Regions from separate parts of the Homo sapiens genome. Here region 1 is linked to region 2. Evidence: promoter capture Hi-C in 16 types of primary human blood cells and fetal thymus (Javierre and others, 2016). All regions are on one chromosome and are shown on one strand. Each heading gives the region's core, a stretch centred on a gene start or on the middle of the fragment in contact. The rest is flanking DNA. Distances are from core to core; before and after follow the strand shown.

Region 1 (5,290 bases), core at 1,384-3,883, 220 kb after region 2:
ATAATATTCTGTTGTATGGGTATACAACTTTTTGTTTATCATTCATTTGTGGATAGACACATGGGCTGTTTCTACCTTTTAGCTATTACGTATAACGCTGCTATGGATATTTGCAAACAAGTATCTGTTCAAGTCCCTGCTTTCCATTCTTTTGGGTATATACTCAGGAGGGAAATTGCTGGATTATATGGTATATATGTTTAAGTTTTGGGGGAACTGATGAAGCACTCTTGACAATACAGATTGCTAGGCTGTACCCCAATCCTCTGTGATTGGACCCCAGGAATGTGACTTCTTAAAAGGATCCCCAGGTGACTCTCAGGCAGCCAGTCTATGGAACCCAGGAGTCTATTTTATACATGCACACTTATAGATTTATTCATTAAGAAAGTTAACATAGGTTCACTGATTCGTTCAACCAATATGTGTTGAGCACATACTAAGCGGCAGGCCCTCTGCAGGTGCCGGACACAGTGTCGCTAGCAGGGAAGACAGACACATCCAACGCGTTACCTCAGTGGTTCCCAACCCCAGCGACGGCCTCCCAGGGAACATTTGGCAATGTCTGGAGACATTTTTAATTGTCACCACTGGGTGGAGAGGTGCTACTGGCAGCTAGTGGGTGCAGGCCAAGGATGTGGTTAAATATTGCGCTGTGCACAGGACAGACCCCTGGAACAAAGCATGGTTGGCTCTAAAATGTCAAGGGTTGGGACAAGATGTGGTGGCTCATGCCTGTAATCCCAGCACTTTGGGAGGCCAAGATGGGGGGATTGCTTGAGCCCAGGAGTTTAGACCAGCTTAGGCAACATAGCAAGACTCCGTCTCTATTAAAAATAAAAATAAAATAAGTAGCTGGGCGTGGTGGCGCACAGGAGGATTGCTTGGGCCCAGAAGTTCAAGGCTGCAGTGAGCTATGATCATGCCACTGCACTCTAGCCTGGGTGCAGAGCAAGACCCCATCTCAAAAGAAAAAGTAAGTCAAGGGTAGGGATGTGGAAAAAATGCTGCTTTACTTAATGACCATTTTACCAACATTTAGGAAAAGAACAGGGGTTGGGGGAGATCTGTTAGTGATGGGGCAGCTGTGGTGGGGTTGGAGGCGGTGGGAAAGGTAAGCCACTTGGAGGCAGCCCCAAGCCGAGGGTGCAGACTCTCCAGCTACGGCCTGGGCTCACTTTCCTCCTCAACCCTATTTCCTCAGCTTCCAGAATAGGGCAGGGGGACTGTGGTGGGCAGGATAACGCCCTCAGGGATGCCCTAATCCCTAGAACCTGTGAATACGTTAGGTTCCATGACAAATGAGCATTAAGTTTGTGGATGAGATTATGGATAATGATAGGGACATAATCCTGGATTATCCAGGTGGGCCCACTGTCACCAACAGGGTCCTAAAATGTGGAAGAGGGAGAAAGAGCAACCAGTGTCAGAGTGATGCAATGTGACGAAGACTCACCAGCCATTGGCTGGCTTGGAAGATGGGAAGGGGCCACGAGCCAAGGCATGCAGGCCAGGAAGGATTCTCCCCGGAGCCCCCAGAGGGAACACAGCCCTGCTGATGCCTTGACTTTAACTCACTGAGAGTGCGTCAGACTTCCGATCTCCAGAACGGTAAGATACTAAATGTGTGGTGTTTTAATCCACTTAGCTTGTGGCAATCTGTTACAGCAGCAACAGGAAGCTAATACGAGGATGTTCTCAGCAGGGGATCCCCCTAAATGACAGCAGACCCCAGAATGGCCTCTCACCCCATATCTGGCTTCCAGTTCCTCTAAAAGTGCCATGAAATAAACCCAACCTTCCTGACTCAGATGGGCTGGGAGAAGGTTTCACTTCTTAACAACAAACAAAACCTGCCTCAGAGAAGGCACCACGTCTAGACAAATGTTTGGCTCTCAAGCTGCTGCGGGGTTGTGAAGCTGCATATTTGATAACTGAAGTATTGGCACTGTTTATTATTTCATAGGACTTGATTGTTTCTCTGTATCCTGAGAGGGGGCAGGGCCCAGCCATGCCACTGTAAAAATTCCTCCTGTGACCTGGCCCTACGGCCCCCGCTGCCCTAGGCCCACCTCACTGCTGGGGAGGGGTGTTAGGCCTACAAGGGGCTGGGGCCATCACCTCCCACCTCCCCCGTGCTCAGGTCCCAGCAGCAGGAATGGCCAGTTCCCAGGCCTGACCACCCATAGGCTCAGCCCGTTCTCCTTGGTCCCATTCAGGGCCTCGGTGACTGTCTTCCTAAGCTTTATTTCCCTCCCTGCCTCTGCTCTCAGGGCCTTTACACTCACTGTTCATTCTGCCAGGAGCACCTTCTTCCTACCTTTCCGAATGTTTCTCACCCACACTTCCAGTCTTAGCCTGAATTCTACCTTCCTGGAGGTCTCCTCTGAGCTCGGTTGTGAAGCAGGCCCATTCTCCACGTGCCATGGAAGTGTGTAGGAAGCACTGGTCGGTCAGTCTGTCTGTCTCTGTGTTGAACTGCACATCAGCTTACAGATCCATTCTCTCAACGCATGCAGCACATTTTCATGGACTCATTCAACCTCTACGTGCCAAGTGACTGCTGGACTCCCAGACCCAGCCCACAGCTCTCATCACCACCTGAAATCTTCCCACTTATTTGTTTCCTTGCCCGTCATCAGTCTCCCCTGTGCTGATAGCGGACCCGTGGTGTCAGGGACCTGGGTTTCTTTGTTCTCTGTCACCTTCTTCTTGGTCCACTGTAGAAGCCCAAACAGTATCTGCTGAGTGAATGCAAGTGTCATGCTTTACATCCAGCCACCTGGCCACCTGGCAGCCCCTCCAATCCCTGTATACATCATTGTTCCCCCACTCCGACCCTACAGGCATGGCTTTCTCTGCCAGGAATGCTTGTTCTTCAAGCTCCAGCTCTAGTGTCCCTTCTCATGCTGCCCTGAAAAGGCAGAGCCCCCTGTCTGGATCACATCCTCTCCCAGCTCAGGTCAGACCTGCTCCCGGGAAGGAGGCGGGTGCAGCTAATTCTTGTTTAATTGCAAGCTTCCATTAAGTTACTTGGCTGACTGGGTAAAGGCATGAATGCTTGCAGGAATAAATGACAACCTCCCTCCCTGCCAGCCTTCTGGGCTGAGCACTGACCTGGGCACTGTACATTTGGCCCTCATTCAGGAGGTACTGACCCTATTCACAGATGAGAAAGCTGAGGCTCAGGGAGAGGAATTAATGGAGCCAGGGAATAAGCCACACACCCAGGCGGGAGCACAATCTTCTGCTGGCACTGGCTCACCGCTATTTCCTGTCCCGAGGAGCCTCCGGCTTTATTTGCTTTCCCAAAGGATCCTCTGCTGTTCAGGGTTTACCTTCCAGGTACCCGTAATGAGTCAGGGAAGAGGACATGGTCCCTGACCTCATCCAGCTCATTCCATGCATCAAAGAGCAAAGATGAGCAAGACAGCTGGGGTTGTAGCCAGGCAGGTAGGAGAGGTTGCATGGAGAAGGGTTGCCCCGCCAGGCAAGGGAAAATGGCAGTGACCGAGGCCCAGGGCCGATCAGGGGGGCTCCCGCTCTGGGGAAGGCACCAGAGGACCAAGGTGGCCTCGGATCGGAAGGAGTCCAAGACAAAACCTGGAGAAAGGCGGACAACAGCAAGATGGCGTGTCCCCTGATTCATGGCTCGGGCTGCCACTGGCCCTTTAGAAGGGACAGACTCTAGGGAGGGCATTGCTTGTCCAATCCCACTCTCACTCCTGCTTTCTCCAGCCCTGGGGGCCCCCTCGGCTGCCAGCTGCCAGCGATGTCCTCCAGCAGGTGCCCTCCTGCCAGACTGGGGAAGTATGTTAAGGGGAAGGCAGGGCAGGAGGAAGGAGAGTGGCCAACAAAGGAGGGTGGGGGCCCCGCAGGAGGAGGGCATGTCCTATCAGGGAAAGGAGTGCCTGATGGAAGGCAGAAGCCAAGTAATAATAAAAAGCCACTGATTCTTAAGCACGGGCCAAGCACTTGTCACAGTGAGCTACTGAGAGACTAAAGCGTTTCTTTTGCTCCTGTGGCTAACCCAGGGAAGAATAACGGTATCATTCCACCCAAAAAACTGCCATGGGAGAAGAGGCTGTCTTGGTGGGGGAAGAAACTGGCTTGCTGTTATTCTTGTTGCCTTTGCTGTTTCTGAGAGTGGTGTTTGTGTTTTCAAGGCAGGGGCTGAAATGAACCGGTGTGGAGAACAGAAGGGAGAAGCTGAGGATGGGGGAGGTGCAGTGCTTGTGGGGAGGGCAGTGGGACGACCTGAGCTCCAGGAAGGCATTGTCCCTGTGGCAGTGTCAGCCCAGTGGGATGCGGCTGGGGTGCAGCGATGATGGATTCTGAGCAGTGAGCGGCCTACAGCCCCCAGAGCCCTGTGATCACCTGGCACAGTGGAGTGGAACTGCCAGCCCAGCCCCCTCCTCCAAAGGACACTGACAAAGCCCGCAATACTGGTGATGTGGACGGTCTAAGGTCTAACTTACTGGGTTCCTTTAAGCCCAACAGGTTCACATACCATCCTTGGGAGGGATGGGATAGACCTGTGCAAAACAACTGACCCTGGACTGCTTATATGGCCTTTGCTGTACCCTCAGAGTCAGGGAATTTGCACCAGTAACATGTCATCTAGTTCAATCCTCACATCACCCCCGTGACGTAGGTCCTAGTATTGAACCCGTTTGACAGATTCAGAAATAGAGTCCCAGAAAGGAAAGAACCTTGCCTCAATCAGGGAGTGTGTATCATAACCTGAACCAGGGCTCTGCTGTTCTGACTCTTAGTCTAATGTTCTTTTCCTCCCTGGTGACAAATGTGCAATCGATCAGAGAAAGGTTCCACGGGGGAAACTGAGGAAGGTTCCATGCATTTGTTGGAAGGAGCTTCCTTCTTGCCCTTAAGTCAGTGGTTCTCGGTGGTCCTTGGACCAGCAGCATCAGCATCGCTGGGAGCCAGTTAGAAATGCAGCTTCCTGGGCCCCACCCTGGACCTACAGAATCAGACACTCTGGGGATGGGCCAGCATCAGTAACTTAATGAGCTCTGCAGGTGATTCTGATGCACTCTCACTTTGAGAACCACTGCTGTAAGTCAAGAGAAAGTGCCTGGAAATCAGTGAGAAAAGGAATGACGGGACCACTCTTTCTAGGAATTTCTTCCTCTCTGACTTGTTATTTCTGCCCTGTCTACGTCTTCTAAAAAGGACCTGAAGAGACACACACACGCTTGGAAAAGTTGACTGAAAAATATTCCTCCCAGCTCCAGAATCTGGTGATCCTGGGCTCTGACTCTGACAAGGT
Region 2 (5,878 bases), core at 2,269-4,768:
TTTTTGTGTGCCTACATGTGCTGGGCACGATGCCAGATGCTTTTTTGTTTATTGCTATTGAATACCACTTGCTCGGAGTGTAGGTGGACCTCTCCTTGCCCTGTCCCTTGAGGCTACGATGTGTTTGAGGACACATCTGGTGTGTCCACACAGCTGGTTGCTGTTTGGTCAGATTAGTACCCAGGTCTCTTGACTTTAAGTTGGCCACTTATTCATTTTACTATACCTTGTCTGCCTCAACTGGCCTAGAATAGTCTTGTTACATAAATTCTGGTGATGAGAGGCTCTAAAATGTATTCACAGCTTACCAATATTTTAGTTTCTGGGTAGAATGAAAATATTGAACTCCAAAGCCAGTAATCCCTCTGAAATCTTGTGTTACCAGAAGACATCCGGGGCTCTTGCTTCTTGCCTGATGTAAACATCCTTGAACCAAAAGTGAGACCAGCAGGGGAAGAAAGGGGCTAAACCGCTCATCCTCTTCTTCCCCACACTGGCTACCGCAGTTTGTTTGTGAAGGCTTGACTTAGGAGGCTAAGGAGGGAGGATCACTTGAGAGCCCAGAAGTCAGAAATCAGCCTGGACAACATAGTGAAACCTCTGTCTCAAAAAAAAAAAAAAAAAAAAAAAAAAGCTTCAGAAAGTGCATGCTGGAATTACAGGAAAAATGCCATTGGGATGGTGAGCACCTTCAATCCAATGCAAACCACGGTTGGAACTTAATCGTGTGTGTGTGTGTGTGTGTGTGTGTGAGTGTGTGTGTGTATGTGTGTGTGCATTTGGCGAGTTTTAGGAGTTAGGAGGCTTTATACTTTTATACGTGGTCTTTTGCACAATACACTTTGAAAACTGGCTTTTGAACCTTCAGACACTTAAAACAGGTATTTATAGCAATTTCAATGTCCCAGGCAAAAATTTTAAACTGTGCACTTAAACGTTAACCATGCATTTTTTTTTTTTTTTTTTTTGAGATGGAGTCTTGCTCAGTCACCCAGGCTGGAGTGCAATGGCTCGATCTCAGTTCACTGCAAACTCTGCCTCCCGGGTTCAAGCGATTCTCCTGCCTCAGCCTCCTGAGTAGCTGGGATTACAGATGCCTGCCACCGCGCCTGGCTAATTTTGTATTTTTAGTAGAGATGAGGTTTCACCATGTTCGTCAGGCTGGTCTCGAACTCCCGACCTCAGGTGATCCGCCCGCCTTGGCCTCCCAAAGTGCTGGGATTACAGGTGTGAACCACCGCACCCGGCCTTTTTTTCCTTTTTTTGGAGACAGAGTCTTGCTCTGTGGCCCAGGCTGGAGTGCAGTGGTGAGATCTCAGCTCACTGCAACCTCCTCCTTCAGATCTTGGCTCACTGCAACCTCCTCCTCCCAGGCTCAAGTGATTCTTCTGTGTCAGCCTCCTGAGTAGCTGGGATTACAGGCACCTGCCACCAGGCCTGGCTAATTTTTGTATTTTTAGTACAGATGGGGCTTCACCATGTTAGCCAGGCTGGTCTTGAACTCCTGACCTCAGGTAATCCGCCTGCCTCTGCCTCCCAAAGTGCTGGGATTACAGACGTGAGCCACAGCGCCTGGCCCTAACTATGCATCTTAATTTTTGTACTTACTCTCTGATGTGCTAACAGGACAGTAAAAGTGATTTAAGGCTGTTATATTTTCCCTTTATTTAAGAGATGCCTGGGGTTCTTAGCTCAGGAGGGATTCATAGCATGTCTTAAGCCACACCAGTGTTTTTCAGGACACGCTAGGGTGGACTTGGCAACTAGCAAAACACTGAGCTGCTGTGCCTAACTTTTACCCCTGTGTGCCAGTGTGCTTATTTCCTGTCTTAGGATTACTTGTAATTTGGTCTCGGGGAAGTTTTCTGGGTGAGTGCGTTGCACCAATTCCCTTATTGTTTTAAGAACGCAGTGACCTCACTTGGATCCAGGACTCTGCCAGCATTTAAAATCCCGCTCTTACGAAAGGTGAAACTCTTGCCTATAGTTAAGTATCACAGCTTGATCCCATTACAATGAGATGGAAGTTTGTCTGGGCCCGGAGTAGGCCAACAACAGCAGTTTTAAAAGCAGAACTCCCCGCGCTGGGTCTAACCCTGTTCTTGGTCACCGCGTTCGCTTCAGGAGCCTGGAAATCCTCTTTTGGCAGCAGAAGGGGGAGAGTGCTTGGAAATGCTCGGAGGAAAACGACTTTTGGAGGGGGAATAGCGGGGAGGGAAACAACAAGCAACCACCGGCCACACTTGGGGTGCAACTGGGGCTGTGGGGTGGGTAGAGGGAGAGGGAAAGTGAGCAGAACTGGAAGCTCAGAATAGAAGATACAAAAGAAAGTGCCAAGTAGTGAAAAAAACTGCAAAAGGACGGGGGGATGGGGGGAGGGCGACTGGGGAACGGTTTGGAAAAATAGCAATTAGTACAGCTAAAAATAAAGACCAATTTAGAGACAAAGCCAGATACACAAGGAGAAAAATAAAACTCGCCAGAAAGACAATTTCTTGCAAACCAAATGTTCAAGAAAATGGGGGCTAATGACATCCCCTCTGGGGCTGCTCCATAGAAGAAATGAAATAATAGGAGACCGTAGAGCGCGCAGCGCCCAGCAGGTGACGCCGTGGGGGCTTGAGTGGTCCCGGTCGTGGAGCCTGAAGGCCCTGCCAGAGGCAGTGCCCACGTGTCCCCAAAGTTAGAGAAGTGTCCCGAGAGCGCGGTGTGCGGGACAGAGCACCGCCCGGCGCAGGAACCGGGGGGTTCCTGCAGAATCCTCTCAGATCTCCCCGAGTCCTGGCGCCCGCGCGGCACGGCCGGGGAGAGGGCGCCCACCCGCGGCGGCTCGGCTAGCTCAGCGCACGGGCCCTGGGGACGCCCCACCCGCATTCGCGGGGCGGGAAGGCGCAGCGCCCACGAAGTCGAGGAGCAGCCAGGCCCCAGCAGGCGGGGATCCTGGTGACGAGGAGGCAAAGGCCACAGGCTGGGCCGCGCCCGGACTCTGCAGAACCGCGAGGCCTAGGCTTCCCAGCCTGTGACCCGGGAGGGGACCCCGCCCGCCACCTGCGAAGGCTCGCTGAGAGCCCCGAAGCGCGGTGCGCCCGCGGCGCCGTGCCAGTTTCTCCGGGGCTACAGGGAGAAGGCGGGAGACCGCGATGGGCCCGGGAGCTTGAAGCTGGGCGGGGCGGGCCGGGGCGGCATCTCAGGCGAGGGCCAGGGACCCCGGGACGCGCTAACCGCCTCCGCGGGGCTACTAAGTTCCCGGCGGCGCGGGCTCCCTCTGGGCCAGTGCACCTTATCCCAGGCGCGGGGCACACTCTGGGCGATCGGGGGTCACCCGGGGCTGCCCTGCCCTGCCCCGCCCGGGCACCCCGGAGCGGAACCGCGAGTCCTCACCAGCGGGGGCGGGCAGGGCGCACTGAGCGCGCCACGCGGCGCCTGGCTAGGAGGAGGGCGGCGGGCGGGGACCTAGAGCTCCGGGGCGGTGCTGAGCCCGCTCCTCCTCCTTGCCCTCCTCCTCCTCCTCCTCGCCCTCCTCCTCCTCCTCGCCTTCCTCCGGCTCAGCCGCCGCGCCGCCGGGCTGCTCCTTCTTCCTCCTCGGGCGCCCGCGGCGATGTTCAACCGCGCCGTGAGCCGGCTGAGCAGGAAGCGGCCGCCGTCAGGTAAGCGGCTTCGGGGGCCCGCGGGCTCGGGGTCGGGGCGCCGTTTCGCCCGCCCGGCCTCCTGCCCTCCCTCTTGTGCTCGGGCGCGGCTCGGTGGTACCTCCCAGACTGGAGCCCCGGCCGACCGCACCACCTCTCCCCGCTGGGTACCGCACCTTCGCGGTCCCAGCCGCGACGGGAGCGCAGAGCTCCTCCGGGAGCCCCGGGGAGGAAGTTTGGCTGAAAGAGGAACAGCCGCAGTTTTCTTTTTAGTGATGGTCTGGGAGAAAAAGGAGCGCCCCAAATCTCCAAACTTTGGAGGTGACATGGGGCTCCAGATTCCGAAAGCGGAACGGCGCGCGGGCTTCTCCCTCCGTGACGCTCTCCGCCTCCGCTGCGGGCGTGGGTGGAAGGATGCCGAGCGCCCGGGGGAGCACGGCTGGACCCGGGCATCCGACTGGGCCCCTGGGCCTGGGGCGTCGGGGGCCTTCGCTTCTGCCGCGAGGAGCCAAAAGGTGGGATCGCGAGGGTGGCGGAACCCCAGGATGGAGAAGGGCACTTCTGCGGTCCGAGCCAGCGAAGTTCTGACGTTACGAAGGATTCGCCTTGGCCGTCACTTTGGGCCAGCCTGAGCCACGATCTCGGGCAACTTGATAGGCCAAAGACCCCACGGTGAAGGTGGAGCCGTGCCCTTGATTCCGGTCCTTCCACCCTTTTGCTCATCACAATAGCTACGACCTGTGCAGGCCTTTGGGTGCGCCAAGGGCTTTGTCCACCGCGTTGGGTGAACTCTCCCTTCACCCCTAGGACAACCCGGTGAGTGAGGAGGGAGCGGAAGCCAGGCGCTGTTAGGTAACTTGCCCCAGTCACACTCCGCAGGTGATGGGGAGGCTTTCAAACCCAGGTTCCCCTGACTCTGAAGTTCGGGGGCTTTGCCGGGCTTCCCACGCCAAGATTCACTTCTGCTTGGCGCTCAGAGTCCCAACGCGTTGGTGCATTTCCTTTCTGCTCCTGGTATTTTATGAGGGACATTGTGGTTTAGAGACTGGGACCAGACTGGCTGGATCCGAATCTCACCTTCGCCATATTCACCAGCCGTGGGACCTTTCTGCAGAATGAGGTTCTGCACAGTGGGAATAACAGTAGCTACTCGCCTTTTAAAGTACTTAATTGGAACCTGTCTTCCATCCATCAGGTTTTGCAAATTATTGTATTTAATATGTAGGATTTCATAGGGTTGTTGTAATGATCTTACATTGTTGCCCGGCAAGTACTAAGTGCTCCGTTAGCGTTAGTGGTCATGTAAACCTTTTTGTGTTGCATGTGAGTCAAAGAATTCCCTTGTGGGTGTTAATGTTAACCAGTCTCTATGGTTGGCACAGGCCTGTGGAGCGCTGCTCAGAGCCTGGACTCGAATTAAACTCTTGGTTCTAACCTTGACTCTGTCATTCAGCAACACTGGGCAAATTACTTGATCTCTCTGTGCCTCCGTTTCAGTGATGTGCTGGAGCTGGCTCAAACTGGCTTGCAAGAGCCAGTTGCCAAATATTCAAAAAGTTTGGAAACTGGTTGTAAACCATAGGTAGCTTGAAAGTAGTTATGATGGGATATTTACATCATGAAAATCAACAAAGCTAAAAATGAAGGCTTCATTTTGACTCAGGAGAGCTGATGTTCCAGCACCTTTCTCCACCTGCAAAGTGGGTTTCATAGGGTTATGGGATTAAATACTCAAAACCATATGAAGCCCCTAGTACAATGTGTGGCACATAATAAAAGTGTAATAATTAGTAGCTTTTCTCCCTTTTGCCTGTTATAAATAGAGCTGCTATGAATAGCCCTGTACGCGTTACTTATTACTTTAGATTGCTTTTGGGTTGAAGACTGACAGATAGAACCATTGTATCCTGGGAGATACATGGATTTGGGGTGATTTTGCGTGTAGCCAGGTTGCACCCCAAAAAGGCTGAAGGCAGTTTTAGGGAACAAATTATTTCAGGGCAACAAATTTTAAACCTCATAAAATGTGGTTACATCACTGACAGAAAGGTCGGTCTCAGGCCGGGCTCAGTGGCTCACACCTGTGATCCCAGCACTTTGGGAGGCTGAGGCAGGAGGATTGCTTGAGCCCAGGAGTTCCAGATAAGCCTGGGAAACATGGCAAAACCCCGTCTCTACAAAAAAATTAAAAAATTAGCCAGGCATGGTGATGCGTGCCTGTAGTCCCAGCTCCTTAGACGGCTGAAGTGAGA

The links. The method cuts DNA at HindIII sites, captures the fragments that hold promoters and counts their contacts. A CHiCAGO score of 5 or more calls a contact.
Region 1: a fragment that was not itself captured here is called in contact with the fragment with the promoter of RGS10 in region 2 in 1 of 17 cell types (activated CD4 T cells); the score reaches 5.2 in activated CD4 T cells.

Annotation. Positions count from the first base shown.
Region 1 is chr10:119,317,676-119,322,965 of GRCh38, reverse strand. The region is part of intron 1 of GRK5 (G protein-coupled receptor kinase 5); the gene reads right to left. Among named protein-coding and RNA genes, the nearest start is that of GRK5-AS1, 19 kb to the left of the region's middle. RefSeq lists enhancers at 4,362-4,995, 4,996-5,290. The HindIII fragment of the contact is 775 bases long and covers 2,246-3,020 here.
Region 2 is chr10:119,540,359-119,546,236 of GRCh38, reverse strand. RGS10 (regulator of G protein signaling 10) reads left to right here and starts at 3,518. Exons shown (of 5, transcript NM_001005339.2): 1 at 3,518-3,647. The coding sequence starts at 3,599. RefSeq lists enhancers at 1,755-2,263, 2,526-2,605 and silencers at 2,816-2,975, 3,026-3,095, 3,106-3,845, 3,896-4,065. The HindIII fragment of the contact is 10,649 bases long and covers 637-5,878 here.